Linked DNA regions of Homo sapiens: region 1 is linked to region 2. The links are contacts of gene promoters, found by promoter capture Hi-C in blood cells and fetal thymus (Javierre and others, 2016). All regions are on one chromosome and are shown on one strand. Each heading gives the region's core, a stretch centred on a gene start or on the middle of the fragment in contact. The rest is flanking DNA. Distances are from core to core; before and after follow the strand shown.

What was found. Contacts are between HindIII fragments. The CHiCAGO score rates a contact against its expected background, and 5 or more counts as called.
Region 1: a fragment that was not itself captured here is called in contact with the fragment with the promoter of SPECC1L-ADORA2A in region 2 in 1 of 17 cell types (erythroblasts); the score reaches 7.3 in erythroblasts.

The regions. Positions count from the first base shown.
Region 1 is chr22:24,508,288-24,514,829 of GRCh38, reverse strand. UPB1 (beta-ureidopropionase 1) reads right to left here. Exons shown (of 10, transcript NM_016327.3): 4 at 3,987-4,081; 5 at 1,345-1,506. Among named protein-coding and RNA genes, the nearest start is that of UPB1, 16 kb to the right of the region's middle. RefSeq lists an enhancer at 88-137 and a silencer at 5,111-5,384. The HindIII fragment of the contact is 438 bases long and covers 3,614-4,051 here.
Region 2 is chr22:24,268,379-24,274,513 of GRCh38, reverse strand. SPECC1L-ADORA2A (SPECC1L-ADORA2A readthrough (NMD candidate)) reads right to left here and starts at 3,697. Exons shown (of 20, transcript NR_103546.1): 1 at 3,531-3,697. It overlaps SPECC1L (sperm antigen with calponin homology and coiled-coil domains 1 like), which reads right to left and starts at 3,683. Exons shown (of 17, transcript NM_015330.6): 1 at 3,531-3,683. It also overlaps the pseudogene RPS10P29. RefSeq lists an enhancer at 3,225-3,304 and a silencer at 3,365-3,894. The HindIII fragment of the contact is 24,380 bases long and covers 2,620-6,135 here.

The sequences.
Region 1 (6,542 bases), core at 2,583-5,082, 240 kb before region 2:
CATTATATAGAACGGTGGAGCCCGGAGACCTGGAGCACATCCAAGCAACTCTCTCCCTGGTCAGAGGAGAAAGCTGCTTCCTGAGGGGGCATAGCTCGCCCAAATGATTAAGGCCAAAGCTTCTAGTGGAACCCACACCCTGAAAGCGCACCTTCTCCATCCTGCCTAGGGTTAAGGAGGTCCCTGTGGGGCAGGCGGACCAGACCCCATCCTCCCATCCCTGCTTCTCTGTCTGCTCCTAAGGGTGCCAGGGCAGGGACACTGTCCTGGACAGCACTGAGGGAAGCTAGAGGGCAAATCAGGGTCCCAAACAGATCTGCTCCAGGAGCCTTCCACCTCCTCCTGATCCTGGCCATCAAAATTGGCCAGGGTCAGGCAGCAACCAGGATGTGTGCACGTGGTGAACACCGGAGCAGATCCTGCTGTGCTGAGACAAGCCCTGTGCTATCTGCAGGGAGCTAAAGATTAATCCCAGGGTAAACAGGTGAGGGGCGCGTCTTCCCACCCCCACCTCCAGCTGTTACTGAGAAACGCTGGGTTCTTCTTTCTCCCTGGGAAACCTCCTCTAGCTCTGCAGGCCATTTCTTATCTGCCTGACCAGCCTGAGAACGGCCAGGACCCCCACATTCATGGAGAGAGAACTGGGGACATCACATCCTGAACAACTGCATTAATGGCAAATCAAGTTCAGATTTAACATCTTAGGCATTAGGCAGAGGTCATTTCCCTCCTTCAAACATCCACCGCTCCCATCTTACCCACCCAGGGGTTGGCATTAACCAACCAAAATGGCCCCCCCAACTTATGCCCTGATCATGGGCACATGAAACTTCACATAATGCACAGTATACAGACATGCATGTTTGCCTACTGCCACCTGACACACAAACATGGGCCACCTCAGACCCCCCCATGATCCACAGACAAGGAATGCCATGCTCCAAACAAGGACAGGGCTGTGGCGTGCTAGGCTCTGAGCCTGAAAGGGGCCACAGGAATCATTTCATGTTTGTGCAATATTTAGTTTTGGTTTTAATTTATATACCACTTACTTCAAAGAATTCAGGAGGCCAAATCAGGTTGTATTAAAAAAATATATGCCCCATTGTGCTAAAGGTGTTTGGGACTCCTCTGAGAGTCCCGCCTGAATCCTGTCTGCCTGTGTGATATAGGGCAATGTCAGGTAACCCTCTGAGCACTGCAGCCACACTGTGCTCCCGTGGAGTGTACGTGACATGGAGTATGATCCTGCACAGAACTTCCCCACAGAAAGTCCCACAGAGATCTACAACATACAGAGGGGCAAGTGAGCAGGGCTGGTTATCTATCTTATGGGTGGCTCACCTCGTTGAAATCACCCACTCTGGGGATGTGGTTTTTCCTGGTCTTTCCCAGGACTGCTCCGGAATTGGAGATCACCACGGCTGTATTCCACAAAACATCCCCATGCTCGCTGTCTCGTTCCAGGATGGGAGACACCACCACCATGTCATGGTTCTTCGCCAGCTGGAAAAATGATAAATATGGCAGAGTCCCACTTATAAACCAATTGTTGTAGTTTTTTATCAAAGAAGAATGATCCTACTAAATCAATAGGCTTGGGTCAGAGCAACCACTTGCATTTGTTGTTTGGAACACTAAATACCCTGATGTCCATGCTTTGCTAAATAAGAATCACATTGTCCTGTACACAGTTGGTGGTAGAGTAAAATGGTGCAGCTGCTCTGGAAAACCATATGGGAGTTCCTCAAAAAATTAAACAAGAATTACCATTTGATCTGGCAATCCTAATCCTGGGTATATATCCAAAAGTATTGAAAGCAGAAGAGATTTGCAAACGCATATTCATTGCAGCATTATTCACAATAGCAAAGAGGTGGGAGCCAACCAAGTGCCCATCAATGGGTGAATGGATAAATGAAACATGGCACATCCATACAATGGAGTATCATTCAGCCTTAGATGCCACGGTTCTACGCTACACATGGATGAACCTTGATGATACTATGCTAAATGAAATAAGCCAGTCCCAAAAAGACAAATACTGTATGATTCCACTTGTGTAAGGTATCTAGAGTAGTCAAACTCACAGAAATGGAAACTATAATATTAATAGAACGGTGGTTGCCAGGGGCTGGGGGAATGGGGAGCTATTGTTTAATGGGACAGAGTCAGATTTGCAAGATGCAAAAATTCTGGAGATCCGCACAGTGTGAATATACTTTACACTACTGAACTGTGCACTTAAAAGTGGTTAAAATAGTACATTTTATATGTATATTTTACCACTTGAAAAAAGAATAAAAATAATAATCAAACGACTTATCTATGCCAAAAATAAATTTCTTTGGCATCAAATTCCTTTTGTCTCAAGTAAGAACATCAGTCCCTGGTGACCACAGGATGAGCAGCCCAGCGGGTCATTTGTCCTCTACTCTAATTAGCTGTCATGATCTCTGGCCTTAACAACAGGATAGGGGAGAGGCATGCTCAGAAGGCAACACTAGGAGCCATGCTAAGGGCAGCCTCAGGTCCCTGTGGAGGCGGAGTGTCTCTGGCACCAGCTCTCTTTCACACTCTTCCTCCAGCCCTGGCTCAGACTTATCATCTGCAAAAGTCCCCTAACCAGTCTCCTTCCTCTTTTTTCCATAGCAAGAAATCAACAACCTGGTGAATGAGAGATTTTTTTTTTTCCCCTACAGCCTGAGAACATCGATGTTTGGAATCACAACTGAGTATTGATAAAGTCACCATGATTATAGCTCTGCCCCAAAAGCCCCTAAGTATATGTATAAAACCTGAAAGAGAATACAAAGAAATGAAAAGAGTTATTGTGTTAGAGGTGAAAATAAGGATAAATGACCATTCGTCACCTCATGGGTTTTCTGATAACAGTTTTATTAAGATATAATTCAGGCCAGGTGCGGTGGCTCACGCCTATAATCCCAGCACTTTGGGAGGCCGAGGTGGCGGATCACGAGGTCAGGAGATCAAGACCATCCTGGCTAACACGGTGAAACCCCGTCTCTACTAAAAATACAAAAAAAAATTAGCCAGGCATGGTGGCGGGCGCCTGTAGTCCCAGCTACTCCGGAGGCTGAGGCAGGAGAATGGCGTGAACCCAGGAGGCAGAGCTTGCAGTGAACCGAGATCGTGCCACTGCACTCCAACCTGGGCAACAGAGTGAGACTCCATCTCAAAAAAAAAAAAATATATATATATATATATATAATTCACAGAGCATAAGATTCACTTTAAGATTGGTCAAGTACAGTAGCGAGAGGTGGGAAACAGCAGAACAAGGAGTCACTCTTTTGAAGTGTGCAATTCAGTAGTATTCAGGATATTCACAGAGTTGTGCAACCTTCACCACTATCTAATTTTAGAACATTTTCATCACCCTAAACGGAAACTTTGTATCCATTAGCAGTCACTCCCTTCCTCCCTCACCCCCAGCCCTTAGCCACCACTTATCTACTTTCTGTCTCTATGGATTTGCCTATTCTGGACAGTTTATATAAATGGGATCATACAATATGTATTATAAGGTTTTAATGAAGAAAAATCAAAACCAATTTCTATGCTGATGAGACACAGGCCATGCATCGAAGCTTCTGTGACTCAAGCAAACTGCAGTGGAGCATGCAGAGCTCTGGATGAGAAACTGGCTTCTCTGGTCCCTGAATGCCAGCTCTGCCACTTGCCAGCTGTGGGACTTGCTACAAAAGTCACCTCCGACCACCCTCCCTGGGCTGCAGCTCCCTTGCCTGAAAAAGCTAATGGCCCTTCTGGAGCCTTACACGCCCCAATTCTAAGAGTACGCTAAAAAAAAAAGTGGCAGATAGTCTTATCTAATCTTATCTGGCAAAACAAGCACCAAATGGGTGCATTTTCCATGGTGAAAGGCCAAACCCGGCAGCTGTGGTCATGCTCTGTGACTTGCACATATTTGGCAGCTGCTGCCAGAGGCACCGTTAATGTCCTACCTTCTGACAGAATCTGGTGGTGGGCCCATCCTCTGCTGACTCAGCAAATTCTGTCCAAGGAAGCTTCTCTCTCGTACAGAAGGCAAAGGGCATAGCTATAAATAGGAGAAAGGGCAGAATTATATCCAACATGCACAGCCTCTGAGGGGGGCTCCTCAGCCCAGCAGCGGGAAGTCACTGCAAAAGAATACAGTCTCAGGAGTGCCATGGCCTGGCTTCTGGGTCCTGTTCCTGGCTGTGGGCAGCCCTTACCTCTGGGCTTCATGGCAAAACAAGGGGCTGGGCCAAATGTCTTTCCCAAAGTCTTAAAAACAATTGCAGCAGGGACTTGAACAGATATTTGCACACTCATGTTTACAGGAACATTATTCACAATAGCCAAAAGATGGAAACAACCCAAGTGTCTTATCAACAGATGAACTGATAGGTAAAATGTGGTATATATATATACACAATGGAATATCAGTCAACTCTCTTTTAAAAAGGGAAGAAATTCTGATGCATGCTTACATGGATGAACCTTTAAGAATATGCTAAGACACAAAACAAATACTGTAGGCGTCTACTCATAGGAGGTATTTAGAGTAGTCAAATTTTTTTTTTTTTTTTTGAGATGGAGTTTTGCTCTTGTTGCCCAGGCCAGAGTACAATGGCACTATCTTGGCTCACCTCAACCTCCCCCTCCCAGGTTCAAGCAATTCTCCTGCCTCAGCCTTCCCGAGTAGATGGGATTACAGGTATGCGCCACCATGCCTGGCTAATTTTGTATTTTTAGTAGAGATGGGGTTTCTCCATGTTGGTCAGGCTGGTCTTGAACTCCCGACCTCAGGTGATCCGCCCACCTCAGCCTCCCAAAGTGCTGGGATTACAGGTGTGAGTCACCACGCCCAGCCTAGAGTAGTCAAATTCTTAATGACAGAAAGTAGAATAGCTGTCAGAGGCCAGAAGAGGGGATAATGGGAAGTTACTGTTTAATGGGTAGAGGTGTCCAATTGTGAATGATGAGAAAAGTTCTGGAGATCATGGTGATGATGGTTGCACAACATGAATGTATTTAATGCCACAGACTGTACACGTTAAAATGGTAAATATTGTTAATGTATATCTATATGCCACACACACAAAAAGTTTTAAATTGCCAAAGTTCCCAACCAGCAGATCTCATGCTGTTGGCCAATCTGCAGGGTGGCAGGAGCTCCATTGACTCCTTGGGGAAAGTATCAGAAGGCTGCTGGGGATGGCACTGGGACCCCCCCTCCTCCTAGTGACAAGGAGGCTTCTTCAGAAATAAGAAAAGCTACTCATTAATGATCCCACAAAAAGTTTGGGAACCACTGGACAGGATGAACATCTGCAAGGATTAATGCTCTTATTCTCATGATCTCTGGCCAGGCCCCACCTAGGAGCTAATTCAGTAGGAAATTTCATTCGACTCATTGGTTTTTGCTTTTTTTTTTTTTTTTTTTTTTTTTTTTTTTTTTTCAAACAGTAGGTACATACACACAGATTAACAGTTCAAAGATACTGGTCATCTCCATGCACACCAAGTTCAGAGCAGTCTCCTATGCAGGGGATGGAGGGGACTCCGCTGGGGTGGGCCCTTGGGACCTTTGGCTATGTGCCTAATGCTGCTCTACAGCCCAGCCACACGTGAATATCTGCAGTGCATGGAGTTACCTTTAGTACCTGCCAGTCTGCTGGTGTGAACGGTGCCTCACTGTGAGTAAATGTTTCCCATATCCCCGGTGAGGCTGAACCCCTCACCACACATTCACTGGCCAGTCTGGATTCCTCCCCTACATTTTTTTGTTCATACCCTTTGCCTATTTCCTACTGTGCTATTCGTCTTTTTCTTTCTCAATGTGGAGAACTCAATCCTTGTCTGGACTAATTCAGTATACTTTGTAGATCTCCCACCTCACAATAACCCAAGTGCATTTCTTTCTTTTTTTCTTTTCTTTTGAGATGGAGTCTTGTTCTTGTTGCCCAGGCTGGAGTGCAATGGCACGATCTTGGCTCACTGAAACCTCCACCTCCTGGGTTCAAGCGATTCTTCTGCCTCAGCCTCCCAAGTAGCTGAAATTACAGGAGCCCACCACCATGCCCATCTAATTTTTTTTGTATTTTTAGTAGAGATGGGTTTTCATCATGTTGGCCAGGCTGGTCTCAAACTCCTGACCTCAGGTGATCCAGCTGCCTCGGCCTCCCAAAGTGCTGGGATTACAGACATGAGCTACCACACCCAGCCCAAGTCCATTTCTTTCTTTCTTTTTTTTTCTTTTTTGAGACGGAGTCTCGCTCTCGTTGCCCAGGCTGGAGTGCAGTGGCACGATCTTGGCTCATTGCAACCTCCACCTCCTGGGTTCAAGCGATTCTCCTGCCTCAGCCTCCCAAGTAGCTGGGATTACAGGTGCCCGCCACCACATCCAGCTAATTTTTGTATATTTAGTAGAGACAGGGTTTCACCATGTTGGCCAGGCTGGTTTCGAACTCCTGACCTCAGGTGATTCGCCCACCTCAGGCTCAGAAAGTGCTGGGATTACAGGCGTGAGCCAC
Region 2 (6,135 bases), core at 2,448-4,947:
CAGTCTTCAGAATGTAAAAACTACTATTCTGAAGAAGTAGATATTACATTATTAATTTCATTTCAAGATGCTTTAAAAACGTGCCTTTTGATACACTGCAGGTTTTTTAAGAGTATGTCACAATAACTCTAAATCTTACTTGAAATTAATAGAAGAGCACTATAAATTTTAAAGGCTTCACAGACACAGGGATCATCTGTTATGTTCACTTTGGAACAGATCATAATTGTCCCTCCCTCTCAACATACCCAAAATACGTTGTTTAAGGCTACTTTCCTAATGGTCATGTTATTTCACAGTAAAAGACTGAGGTCACAATGATTTCTGAGCTGACAGAAAACCCCATGGGGGTTCTTTACCTCGCATCTAGTCTATTCAGTACTAACAATTCCAACCACCAGAAAGAATTTCCCTGCCTAGGCTTATTTGTTGGCACAACACAAAAAAATCTCCTGGGGCTGGGTGAGGTGGCTAGTGCCTGTAATCTCAGCACTTTGGGAGGCCAAGGCAGGCGGATCACCTGAGGTCGGGAGTTCCAGACCAGCCTGACCAACATGGAAAAACCCTGTCTCTACTAAAAATACAAAATCAGCCAGGGGTGGTGGCACATGCCTGTAATCCCACCTACTTGGGAGGCTGAGGCAGGAGAATCGCTTGAACCTGGGAGGCGTAGGTTGCGGTGAGCGGAGATCATGCCATTAGACTCCAGCCTGGGCAACAAGAGCGAAACTGTCTCAAAAACAATTATATCTAATAAAAAAGATCTATTTAACAATGATCAGAATAGGAACATCTTTAATGCCATGCAAATTTAACAGCTTTCTCAGTGGATTTCTCAGTAGACTGTGACCAATGATCTCAAAATAAACTCATATTTACTCTTAAGAAATACTCTATATTTGAATCTTCTTAACAGCAAAAGCCCCAGGAACTTTTTCCTGAACTCCCTAACAGCAGCAGGAAAACAAGAGATTCTCGGCTCTCTTTATTTTTAAAAATCACAATAACTACCCTTGCATTTACTATTTACGTTTACCATATATCACCATTTACTATCACCATCATTTCATAAAAGATGCTTTATTTTAACACCAAGAAAGCAGAACTTTTTTAAAGAAAAGATAGTCCTTCAATTGAATAAATTGAATTGTATAAAAGACTCCCAATATTGTCCTTTTTTTCTTATTTCTGTTCCCTTACTGAGCTGAGCAGTTTGCATAATACCACACACAGGTTAGTCATGTGATTTAAATATGTATATGATAGTAATTTTGATACTATCACTTAAGTCATTCGAAATATCAGATGCACTGTGTGTCAAGTCAGTTATAGAGAACCACTGCTTCAGAGAAATCACATCTGAGGAAGAAACACCGCAGATACACCTCCTAAAAGTTCACCTTTGAAACAGAAATTTTGATACAAACTTCACTTTAACTACAACTGTAATTGTAATTATTACAGTTATTCTCCACTCACTAGATACTGTACTTGACACTCACGTTATTTAGTTGGCTACCAACGTGCACCTGTGATAAAGCTTTCCTATGGCACAACATTCACTTTCTTACTGAAAATGTCAAGAAAACCCCTACACACCTGCAACCATTAGGAAGCATTCTCCAGCTATCAAAAAAGTCACTGAATCGGCTAAGCGACTCTGTGTGGTATACACTAAATCAAAGGGGAAAAGGTGTTTTTTTGGAGGAAAAAAATACTGGATTAGCCATTTATTGAAACAATTTTACCCACAACAATACTTCTCCTTTCACTATATACCCTTCTATGTTGGTTTGGTTATTTTACAACATACATGTATATTGTAATAGCTGTTTTTTTTTTTTTTTGAGACAGAGTCTCACTCTGTCGCCCAGGCTGGAGTGCAGTGGCGAGACCTCGGTTCACTGCACCCTCTGCCTCCTAAGCAATTCTCCTGTCTCGGCCTCCCGAGCCGCTGGGATCACAAGCGTGTGCCACCACGCCCGACTAATTTTTATATTTTTTGTAGAGACGGGGTTTCACCATGTTGGCCAGGCTGGTATCGAACTCCTAACCTCAGGTGATCCACCCGCCTCGGCCTCCCAAACTACTGTGATTACAGGCGTGAGCCAGGGAGCTCGGCCTTGTTATATCTGGTTTTTGTTTTTTTGAGACGGAGCCTCGCTCTGTAGCCCAGGCTGGGGTACAGTGGCGCGAACTCGGCTCACTGCAACCTCCGCCTCCCGGGTTCAAGCGATTCTCCTGCCTCACCCTCCTGAGTAGCTGGGATTACAGGCGCGCGCTTTTTGTATTTTTAGTAGAGACAGGATTTCACCATGTTGGTCAGGCTGGTCTTGAACTCCTGACTTCAGGTGATCCGCCCGCCCCGGCCTCCCAAAGTGCTGGGATTACAGGCATGAGGCACCGCGCCTGGCCTGGTTTTTAATTACGAAGAAAAAATTACTATAGTCCCTTTGGTATCACCTACATTGGCAAAATTGCAGTCCCCCTCCACTCCCTGAAGCCACCAGAAATGACTGCTGTTGTCTACAAAGCCTACAGCTCTGATTTCATCTCAAGATGTGTCCTACTGGGTGACAGCAAATGCCATTTTTTAAAGGCTTGTATCTGTTATAAGCTTGGGAAATATTATCATGGCTTAAGAGGCTCTTTTGACAAAAGAAAACACTGTTCCCTGAAATCACCTGGGCTGTTCACGGGAATCTTTTCCTCGCCCTTCTGGTACTTGGACAAATGATCAAGGATATCAACAAATCAAGGTTCCCCGCATTTGAATGATCACAGAATTTTTGCGTGTTCTGTAAATGGGCTAAAACTACTGGAAACTGATTTCTTTTCGTCATCTCCAGGGCAGCTTGCCCAACGTGCCGCGACTATGATGTCTTAGACTTAACTACTTAAGGTAATACAATTACCAAATTCCTGGAAACGCAAAATTTCCTCAGACAGGTACCGGATTATTCACATCCAACCTGATGCAATTAACCACGTCTCAAGAAAAAAGGACGTTCCGTCCGCCTCGGGCGCCGGCCACAGCAGAAGCAGCACCGGCAGCAGGCCCGGGGTCCGCCGCCTGTGGCCCCTGCTCCTCCGCTCTGCGCCCTCGGGGCCACTGAACAACGCTGTCCCCGCCCCAGGCAAGGGACCCGGGCGATGGGGCGGCAGCCCCAGCCTCTCCCGGAGCGGCGGAAAGGCAAGCACGAGGGTCGCACCCGGCCTGTCTGCACACAGTCAAGCCGCAAGCGGGGTCCCAGAACCAGCTGAACCCCAACACCAACGGACGAAGGCCAGTGGGTCTCGGCGGCGAAGCCTGCGGGTTGTTCCAGAAGCCCCGAAGCCCAGAACGAGGACGGCGCGGGAAGGGAAAGGCGCAGGCGCGGGACACACTGGAGGGGCCCAGGAGCAGAGACGGCGCAGGCGCTGGGCCTGCCGGGGTCTGCGGGGACGCCCGGGCGCGGCAGCGCGGGCGGCGCTGAGGCGATAAACCAACCCGCCAGCGAACACTGCGGGAACCCGGCTGCTGCTCTTACCGCGCTGCACCGCATCGCTCCCTCGCAATCTCCTGGTTTGGGCTGGGCGGTGAGCTCACCCGGTGGCTCAGCCGAGACCCGTTGAGTCCGGCCTCAGGAAAGCAGCCTACCCCGCAGCGCCGCTTGCCGGGCCGCCCGGCCTCCCTCGCGGGCCCCGCCCTTGGCCAGCCCCTTCGCGCCCAGCAGGGCTGCGGCCGTCTGCGCAGGCGTCGTGGAGGCCCCGCCTACATTCCTTCACTGCGCAGGCGCCGCCGTCCCCCACCACCACCCCCTCCCCTTCCCCCATCTCCGGCTCGCGTCCGTCTCGGCACTGGGTCGCGCAGCCGCTCTGCCACTTGGCCGGTCAAGAAAGTAGCCGGCCAGCCGGTGCGCATGCCTCAGGTCTTGGGCTGGAGCCGGGCAAGGCGGGTCCCTTCAGAGGCCCCACTGGGCCCAGCGGAATGATGCTCAGAGTCCGCTAGTCCCAAAAGTTCTCCTCAGCGTGTTTACCGTGTGCCAAGGACTGTGCTATGCATGAGCCAGACAGCAGTGAGGAAAACACAAAGCCCTGTCCTCCTGGCACTCCCGGTACATAAGGGAACAGACAAAAAGAATAAGCGAGCAACATATATGTATATATATATGTATATACATATATATATACGTATATATATATACGTATATATATATGTATATATATACATATATATATACGTATATATATATGTATATATATGTGTATATATATACATATATATATGTATATATATATATATATATATATAAAATATTAAAGAAATTCTGGGGGAGTTCGAGTTCCATCGGCCCCCATCCGGGCCACCCTGCCACCTTAGCGGCTGCTCCTCCCCAGAATGCTGATGCCTAAGAAAAACCGGATTGCCATTTATGAACTCCTTTTTAAAGAGGAAGTCACGGTGGTCAAGAAGGATGTCCACATGCCTAAGCACCTGGAGTTGGCAGACAAGAATGTGCCCGGCCGGGCGCGGTGGCTTAGGCCTGTAATCCCAGCACTTTGGGAGGCCGAGGCGGGCGGATCACGAGGTCAGGAGTTCAAGACCAGCCTGGCCAAGATGGTGAAACCCGTGTCTACTAAAAATACAAAAATATTAGCCAGGCGCGGTGGCAGACACCTGTAATCCCAGCTAGTCGGGAGGCCAAGGCAGGAGAATTGCTTGAACCCAGGGGGCGGAGGTTGCAGTGAGCCGAGATCGCGCCCCTGCACTCCAGCCTGGGCGACAGAGTGAGACTCCTCTCAAAAAAAAAAGAATGTGTGTGCCCAACCTTCCTGTCATGTAGTCCCGAGGCTACTACGTGAAGGAACAGTTTGCCTGGAGACATGTCTACTGGTACCTTACCAATGAGGATATCCAGTATCTCCGTGATTACCTTCATCTGCCCCTGGAGATTGTGCCTGCCACCCTACGCCGCAGCCGTCCAGGGACTGGCAGGCCTCGGTCTAAAGGTCTGGAGGGTGAGCGACCTGCAAGACTCACAAGAGGAGAAGCCGACAGAGATACCTACAGAAGGAGTGCTGTGCCCCCTGGTGCCGACAAGAAAGCCGAGGCTGGGGCTGGGTCAGCAACCGAATTCCAGTTTAGAGGCAAATTTGGTCGTGGACACCGTCAGCCACCTCAGTAGAATTGGAGAGGATTATTTTGCATTGAATAAACTTACAGCCAAAAAGACTTAAAAAAAAAAAAAGAAAAAAATTGTATTATGTCGCAAATGAACCTGTTGCAATGATCATACAGGTTTTTTCCTTTGATAGTTTGTACTACTTTAATAGTTTTTTCTTTTATTACATAATCTTAGTTTCCTAGGAAAACCCCAACTTGGTCGTGATACATGTTTAATCCATTGCTGGATTATTTGCTAATATTTTATTTAGCGTTTTTGCATATATGTCCATAAGAAGTTAGTCCATACTTTTGCCTCCTTGTACTATTTATGTCTGGTTTGGTTTTAAGCCTATACTAAATTCACAGTGAGTTGGGGAGAATTCCATTTGCTTCTTTTTCTGAAAGATTATCTAGGCTGGGCACTGTGGCCTACGCTTGTAAAACTAGCATTTTGGGAGGCCGAGGTGGGCGGATTACCGGAGGTCGGGAGTTCAAGAACAGCCTGGCCAACATGGTGAAACCCCATCTCTACTAAAAATACAAAAAATTAGCCGGGCACACCTGTAATCCCAGCTACTCTGGAGGCTGAGGCAGGATAATTGCTTGAACCTGGGAGGCAGAGGTTGCAGTGAGCAGAGATCACGCCACTGCACTCCAGTCTGGGCTACAAAGCGAGACTTTCTGTCAAAAATAAATAATTAATTTTTAAAAATTATGTAGAAGATAAAAACTTTATGTTCTTTTTAATGTTTGCTGTCCATAAAATCATCTGGGCCAGGTACTTTTCTTTGGTTTTGTTTTTTTGTGAGATTTTTGAGGGGATGGGATACAGATTTTTTTTTTTTTTTTTTTTTTTTTGAGACGGAGTCTCGCTCTGTCGCCCAGGCTGGAGTGCAGTGGCACCATCTCGGCTCACTGCCAGCTCCGCCTCCCGGGTTCACGCCATTCTCCTGCCTCAGGCTCCCGAGTAGCTGGGACTACAGGCA